Regions from separate parts of the Homo sapiens genome. Here region 1 is linked to region 2. Evidence: promoter capture Hi-C in human tissues and cell types (Jung and others, 2019). All regions are on one chromosome and are shown on one strand. Each heading gives the region's core, a stretch centred on a gene start or on the middle of the fragment in contact. The rest is flanking DNA. Distances are from core to core; before and after follow the strand shown.

Region 1 (3,306 bases), core at 315-2,814, 1.0 Mb before region 2:
AAACGCAGGGGACAGGGCACAGCCGTGGCAGGAGTGCAGCGAGCAAGATTCTGGTCACAGTCCTGACCCAGAAACCTGCAGAGGAAGGGAGGGTGGCCAGCACCTGCCCGTGGGCCTGGGGTGCAGCCCAGGCAGAGGTGGATGGAGGGGGTGCTCAGGGAAGAGGGGAGGGGAGTGTGTGACCTCAAAATGGGAGGGCTTGGGGGTCAGAGTCGAGAGAGGGGACAGGGTGGGGACCATGTGGGACTCTTGAGCACTGACCCTTGAACCCAGGCAGTGGTGGGATGGGAGGGCAGGAGGCGGCGGGCTGCGAGGCTGATGCGGGGCTGCACGGAGCTGTCATTGAGCCTCTTGGAGGATGGTGGGAGAAGTGCCAGGGGCGGCTGAAAGCCTTGCCGAGACTGTGGGCAGCCTGGTTGTGGGCACTTCGGATGCTTGCACCATTAGACCCAGAGGCTTCCTGGACAAGCCTGGGCTGGAAGAGGATGGCAGAGGCTGCTGGGCCTTGGAAGAGAGAGGGTCCTGGCTTCTAGTTCCTGGGGCAGCTAAGGCCAACCCCAGTGTCCAGGTGTCTTCCATGTTATGCCTGGGAGGGAAGAAAGTAGAGGGGCAAATGCTTTCTTTGCCTATTTTCCTTAAACATTTGGTGGCAGTGCTGGTGGCTGCCTGGGACAGGGGCCAGGAGGAAACACCCCTGCATTAGGGAAGCCCTCAGCCAGCTTTTCCCTGGGATGTTCCTGCGCCTGGCTGAAGCTTTCTGAGTTCATGTTGGGGAAATGGAACGGTCACCTTCCAGCCAGTAAAGGCACCCCTAGCTCTTGGGATGTTTGTATCCAACTCCGGGCAATGTGGGGCTACAAAGGCCCCTGGCTTCCATACCCTGGGGACCGGGGGAGGGCTGGTGCTCCCGCGGTGGGTGTCCACGGTGAGGTCAGGCCCCCACAGCAGGTGCATTCTCGCCCTCAGCAGGCAGGCAAGCAGGCATCAGCTCCGGCGCTGGTCTCTGGCTTCGAAGTCTGTGTCTTTGCCTGTCTGTACTCATGCCTGACCTGCTGGCGCTCCCTGTCCACTGCACTCCTCCCACCTCATTTTTATGTGATTTTGCACAGTGCCTGGCAGACATTTGACATTCAATAAACATTGTACGAACGAAAGAATCAATCCCCCTCTCACTCTCTCTGTCCTTCTCCCTGTGTGCCTCCATATATTTGTGCATCTTTGGGGAGTCAGGTGACTTTCCCTACCCTCCCCTCTCCCCATGCTGCCCTGGTCACTGCCCTTGGGACCCCAGCCCAACAGGCCAGTTTAAAAGGATTGGGGCTTGGCTCAGTGGCTCATGCTTATAATCCCAGTGCTTTGGGAGACTGAGGCAGGAGGATTGCTTGTGCCCAGGAGCTCAAGGCTGCAGTGAGCCGTGATTGCACCACTGCACTCCAGCCTGGGTGACAGAGTGAGACCCTGTCTCAATAAATAAATAAATAAAGGATCAAGACTGAGGGGACTGTAAAGGCTGAGCCTCACTGTGCATCTGTGTGTGTGTGTGTGTGTGTGTGAGACTGTGTGCATATGTGTTCGTGTGTGTGTGTAGTGTGTGTGCCTGTGTGCTTTTGTCTGTGTATGTGGTGCATGTGTGTGTGACTGCTTCTGTGTGACTGTGTGCATGTATGTGTTGTGTGTGACTGCATGTGTGTGTGACTCTATGCATGCATGTATTATGTGCACATGTGTTTGAATGTATGTAACTGTGTGTGTGTTTGCATGTGTGTGACTGCACGTGATATTCACGTTATGTGTGCATGTGTGTGTGCCTGTGTGCATGTGTGTGTGTTGTGTGTACAAGGGTGTGCATGTATGACTGTGTGCATGTGTGTAAATGTGCTTTGTGTGAGTGTGTGTGACTGCATGCATGTGGATGTGTTGTGTATACATGTGTATGCATGCATGTGGATGTGTTGTGTGTACATGTGTATGCATGCATGTGGATGTGTTGTATGTGCATGTTTGTGACTGTGTGCATGTGTGTGACTATGTATGTGTGTGTGTGTTGTGTGTACGTGTGTGGCCGTGCATAAGTGTATATGTGCTGTGTGTGGCTGTGTGCATGTGTGTGTGACTGTGTGCATGTGTGTATTATGTATATGTGCATGTGTGTGACTGCACATGTGTGTGTTGTGTGTACATGTGTGCATGTATGTGACTGTTCATGTGTGTATTGTGTATATGTGCTGTGTGTGGCTGTGTGCATGTGTAAGATGTGTGTGCGTGTGTATTGTGTATATGTGCTGCGTGTGGCTGTGTGCATGTGTGTGTTGTGTATGTCTGCATGTGTGTATTGTGTGTGTGTGCTGTGTGTGGCTGTGTGCATGTGTGTATTGTGTATGTGTGCTGTGTGTGGCTGTGTGCATGTGTAAGATGTGTGTGCATGTGTGTATTGTGTATATGCTGTGTGTGGCTGTGTGCATGTGTGTGTGACTGTGTGCATGTGTGTATTATGTATATGTGCATGTGTGTGTCTTCACATGTGTGTGTTTTGTGTACATGTGTGCATGTATGTGACTGTGCATGTGTGTATTGTGTATATGTGCTGCGTGTGGCTGTGTGCATGTGTGTGTTGTGTATGTCTGCATGTGTGTATTGTGTGTGTGTGCATGTGTAAGATGTGTGTGCATTGGGGAGGAGGTGCTATAGGGTCATCCCCCAGCCTCCCTTCCCCTGACCACAGTGGTCCAGAGCTCTCCAGGCTCCCCTGCCCTTGCCAAGCCACTGCCCATTCCTGCAGGTGGTGGAGCTTGATGCCTCTTCTCCAGACACTGGAAATCCGCATAACATTCTTTCCTAATTGCATGTGCTCAGCTGTCCCACGGGGGCTTTAGAGACCAGCAATATACGCTCCCTGGGGTCCTCCTCCCATAGCATGCAGCTGACTAGCTCAGATGGATGGGGGCACAAGGGGCCAGGGAAGTCTCTGACCCCACAAAACCACAGGGCCCACTGAACCTCAGGATGAGAGGAACTGTCCTTGACAGGGACTGGGCGGAGAGGGGAACTGTTCTGAGACAGAAAAGGGACAGGAATCTCCTCCCCACCCCGACTTCACATCCACCTGCTGAGCTGGAGGCTTTGCAGGGGTGGTCGGGGCCGCTCGCAGCCAGGACGGGAGATGTGCTCTTGGGAGACTGGCCAGAGAGGCTGTGATGGTGGAAGAAGCAGAAGTAGTCACTGGAAACAGCATCTGAAAATGGCCCACAGCTGATAAGCTCCATCAACCCACCAATTTGAGACCAGTGAAGCCCACACGATAGAACA
Region 2 (3,540 bases), core at 617-3,116:
GCTCTTGTTGCCCAGGCTGCAGTGCAATGGTGCGATCTTGGCCAACTGCAACCTCCGCACCCCACCCCCCCCACCACCACCACCGGGTTCGAGCAATTCTCCTGCCTCAGACTCTCAAGTAGCTGGGATTACAGGCATGCACCATCACGCCAGGCTAATTTTGTATTTTTAGTAGAGACGGGGTTTCTCCATGTTGGTCAGGCTGGTCTTGAACCCTCGACCTCAGGTGATCCGCCCGCTTTGGCCTCCCAAAGTGCTGGGATTACAGGCGTGAGCTACTGCGCCTGGCCTTCCCCGGGGTAATTTTTAATTTTTTTTTTGTAGAAGGGGGTCTCGCTCTGTCGCCCAGGCTGGAGTGCAGTGGCGCCATCACGGCTCACTGCAACCTCGACCTCCTGGGCTCAAGTGATCCGCCAGCCTCAGCCTCCAGAATAGCTTGGCCCACAGGGGTGCGCCACCGCCTGGCTGATGTTTACAGTTTTTTTTTTATAGAGGGGGTCTTGCTATGTTGCCCAGGCTGGCCTCAAATGATCCTGCAGCCTCGGCTTCCCAAACTGTCAGGCTTACAGGCCTGAGCCACTGCGCCCAACCTAAACTTAATTTTTAACCAAATGAAAATACACAAAACAAACCTGGTTACTAGAGGCTGTCCTGCCTATGGAGTAGCCATTCTTTATTCCTTCAAAACAATGCACCTAATTACTAGAGAACACGCACGAAGGTTTGGCACTTCAGCGCCCGCGTATGGGAGTTCTGGCTGTACCCACAGACAGCAGAAGGCGGCTCCTCTGCAGGATGGCCGATTTACTGCTTTGGTCTGTCCCTTCCTCCTCTCGGAGGCGAGTCTCTCAGGCAGGACGGCTGAGGCACCGGCGCCCGCGATTTTCTTTGGCGAGAGTTCCAAGGCTACCGAAACCCTGCGCCCATCCCGCCCACGTGTCTTCACAAAAACCACGCGCGGGACAAGAGCTGCCGGGGACTGGGGCCCCCAGAGCCGCTCCGCACCCACCCTGCCCGGGGCCAGGCGCCCGCGCGCGGGGGAGCTCTTCGGGGTGCAGGACGCCCGCCACCCAGGCCAGGCCAGGCCGCGCTTCTCGATGGGGTGACGGAGCTGTCTCGCTCACGTAGAGACGGTGGCACGGCCCCGTGAGCGCACCGAAAGCGGAAACCGGATTGTCACCACAGGGAAACGCCGCGCCCGCCGCTGCAAGCCCGGAAGCCCCCACCCCGCCCGAGCTCACCTCGCCGCGGGGCCGCCATCTTACCCGCCCCGCCCGCCGGTCCGTCGCGATCCCGGCAGCCTCTCGGCCCGCGCGCTCGCGCTCCTTCGGCCATTTTCGCGTCTCCTGACGAAGGGGCCCGACCGCGCCGCGTTTCGGGAGCGGACGTCCGAGCCACGGCCGAGGCCCGATTAGTCCGTCCGGCACCGCTCGGGCACTTTCGGAAGGGAAGAGGTGGAGAACCGACGTTCGGGAGCATTCGGCCTCGGGGACATTCGGCTCGTCTCGGCTCGGCCTCGGGCTGACTCGGCTTCCGCCGGCGGCGGGAACGGGCGAAACCCGCGGCACTAAGCTCTCTCTGAGAGGCAGAATTGCGCCGGCCGCCGGCGAGAATCTGCCTAGAGCCGTCCAGCCCTGTCGGCCGGGGACGACAGCCGCCTCAGCCTGTCAGGACAGTGAGGAGAGCAGGGGCCGAGTCTCTCGGAAGCCCTCGTGAGGACTCGGACCTATTCGGACTGATTCGGCTTCCCACTTCGGGGAACTTCGACCCTCCTCGGTTCAGGACTCGGTCTCGGCTCGGCGGCTTCGTGCAGGTTCGGCTCCTACTCGGGCAGCCTCTGTTCGCCTCGGCTCCGCTCCGCGGGCGGACTCGGCTCGGCTCTGCTCGGCGGCTGGCTGCCTTTTCGGTCCCTATTCGGGCGGCGGCTTCGGGCGGCCTCGGCCCAGCTCGGGCGTCCTCTTCGGGCCCCGCTTCGGGCTCCGCGACCGGCGCTTCGGGCGGTCCCGGACGGCGCCTTCGGGAAGGCTCGGCGGAGTCCGGATGGAGGACTCGGACTCGGCGGCAAAGCAGCTGGGCCTGGCTGAGGCGGCGGCGGTGGCGGCCGCGGCCGCTGTGGCGGCGGCGGCCGCGGCCGCGGCAGGAGGCGAGGCGGAGGAGCCGGTGCTGAGCAGGGACGAGGACTCGGAGGAGGACGCAGACTCGGAGGCGGAGCGGGAGACGCCGCGGGTCACGGCAGTGGCGGTGATGGCGGCGGAGCCCGGGCACATGGACATGGGCGCCGAGGCCCTGCCCGGCCCCGACGAGGCCGCCGCTGCCGCAGCCTTCGCAGGCAAGTGCGCCCGCCGGCCTCTCGCCTCGTCCGGTTCCCGCGCGCCTACCCCGCGCGCCTGCCCCGCACAACTGTCCCAGGTGACCAGCCCGCCACACCTGTCCCTCACACCTGCTCCACGTGACCAGCCCGCTCCACCCGCCCTGCACACCTGCCCCTCACACCTGCTCCACGTGACCCGCCCGCCCCACCCGCCCTGCACACCTGCCCCACGTGACTAGCTCACCCCTCACATCTGCCTCTCACACCTGCCCCACCCGCCCCTCACACTTTCCCCACGTACCTGCTCCAGGTGACCAGCCTGCCCCACCTGCCACAAATACCTGCCTCGCACACCTGCTCGACGTTTCCAGCCTTCCCCACCTGCCCCACGTGATCGGCCTGCCCTACCTGCCCCGCACACCTGCCCCACATACCTGCCCCAGGTGACCAGCCTGCCCCACCTACCCCAAACACCTGCCCCGCACACCTGCCCCTGGTGACCTGCCTAGCCTCACCTGACCTGGCCCTGCCCTGCACACACCTGCCCCCTGCCCCCCTTTTCTTTGTGGCAGCCCCGCCTCCTACTGGTCCCCCCTGTGCAGCTCTGCCCCTGCCCTGCCTTCGTCCATCCTGGCTCCCCCCACCTGTCCTGGAGAAGCCCTGGGGTGGGTGGGCACCTGTGGTCACCAGGAACCCCCCACTTCCTGAGGGCCAGTTCAGGCATGACCTGAGCGCTGGGGAGCCAGGGGTGGGCAGCCTGCTGGAGGCCATGATGCCAGAGGTCAGCGTGGCTGTGTGGTGGCCCAGGGGGGCTGCGGAGCCACCTGTGCAGGCTCCCCTCCCAGTCCTCCCTCTTCCTCTTGCCTTTTTCCCTAAGGACCTGCTCCTCCTGCCCCGCTTCCTGTCGGGCTTCCTTTGGGGAGGCTGCTGTGGCTTTCCAGTCCACATTTTTATATAAGCTGCTTATAGTTTCTTGCCACACAGGTCAGTCTCCTTCTCAGGCTCCAAAACACTGGGAGCCCGTGGCAGAGCTCACAGATGCCCTACGGGGCTGGTGCCGTCCACCCACCTCCTGTGTCCCGCCCTTGTGTCCGTGGGGCATAGACTTCCCCACCCACTGGCTTCCTAACGCACTGTATTCTTCCCCATTGGAGTTCCCGAGTGTCCCCCAGGGACTCACAGCTCAGTGTTGAGACCCTTGGGAGGAGCTTCTTGTTGCGTTGTGAGGC

What was found. The method cuts DNA at HindIII sites, captures the fragments that hold promoters and counts their contacts. A contact is called where the count stands out against the background at its distance.
Region 1: a contact is called between a fragment that was not itself captured here and the fragment with the promoter of DEAF1 in region 2, in 1 of the 25 tissues and cell types used here (spleen).

Annotation. Positions count from the first base shown.
Region 1 is chr11:1,730,261-1,733,566 of GRCh38, reverse strand. IFITM10 (interferon induced transmembrane protein 10) reads left to right here. Exons shown (of 3, transcript NM_001170820.4): 3 at 1-1,161. Among named protein-coding and RNA genes, the nearest start is that of IFITM10, 19 kb to the left of the region's middle. The HindIII fragment of the contact is 4,222 bases long and covers 1-3,306 here.
Region 2 is chr11:693,548-697,087 of GRCh38, reverse strand. DEAF1 (DEAF1 transcription factor) reads left to right here and starts at 1,866. Exons shown (of 12, transcript NM_021008.4): 1 at 1,866-2,329. The coding sequence starts at 2,041. TMEM80 (transmembrane protein 80) reads right to left here and starts at 1,272. Exons shown (of 5, transcript NM_001042463.3): 1 at 1,242-1,272. The coding sequence starts at 1,260. RefSeq lists enhancers at 1-267, 808-1,347, 1,348-1,889, 1,890-2,429 and silencers at 875-1,294, 1,795-2,094, 2,105-2,224, 2,245-2,494. The HindIII fragment of the contact is 41,051 bases long and covers 1-3,540 here.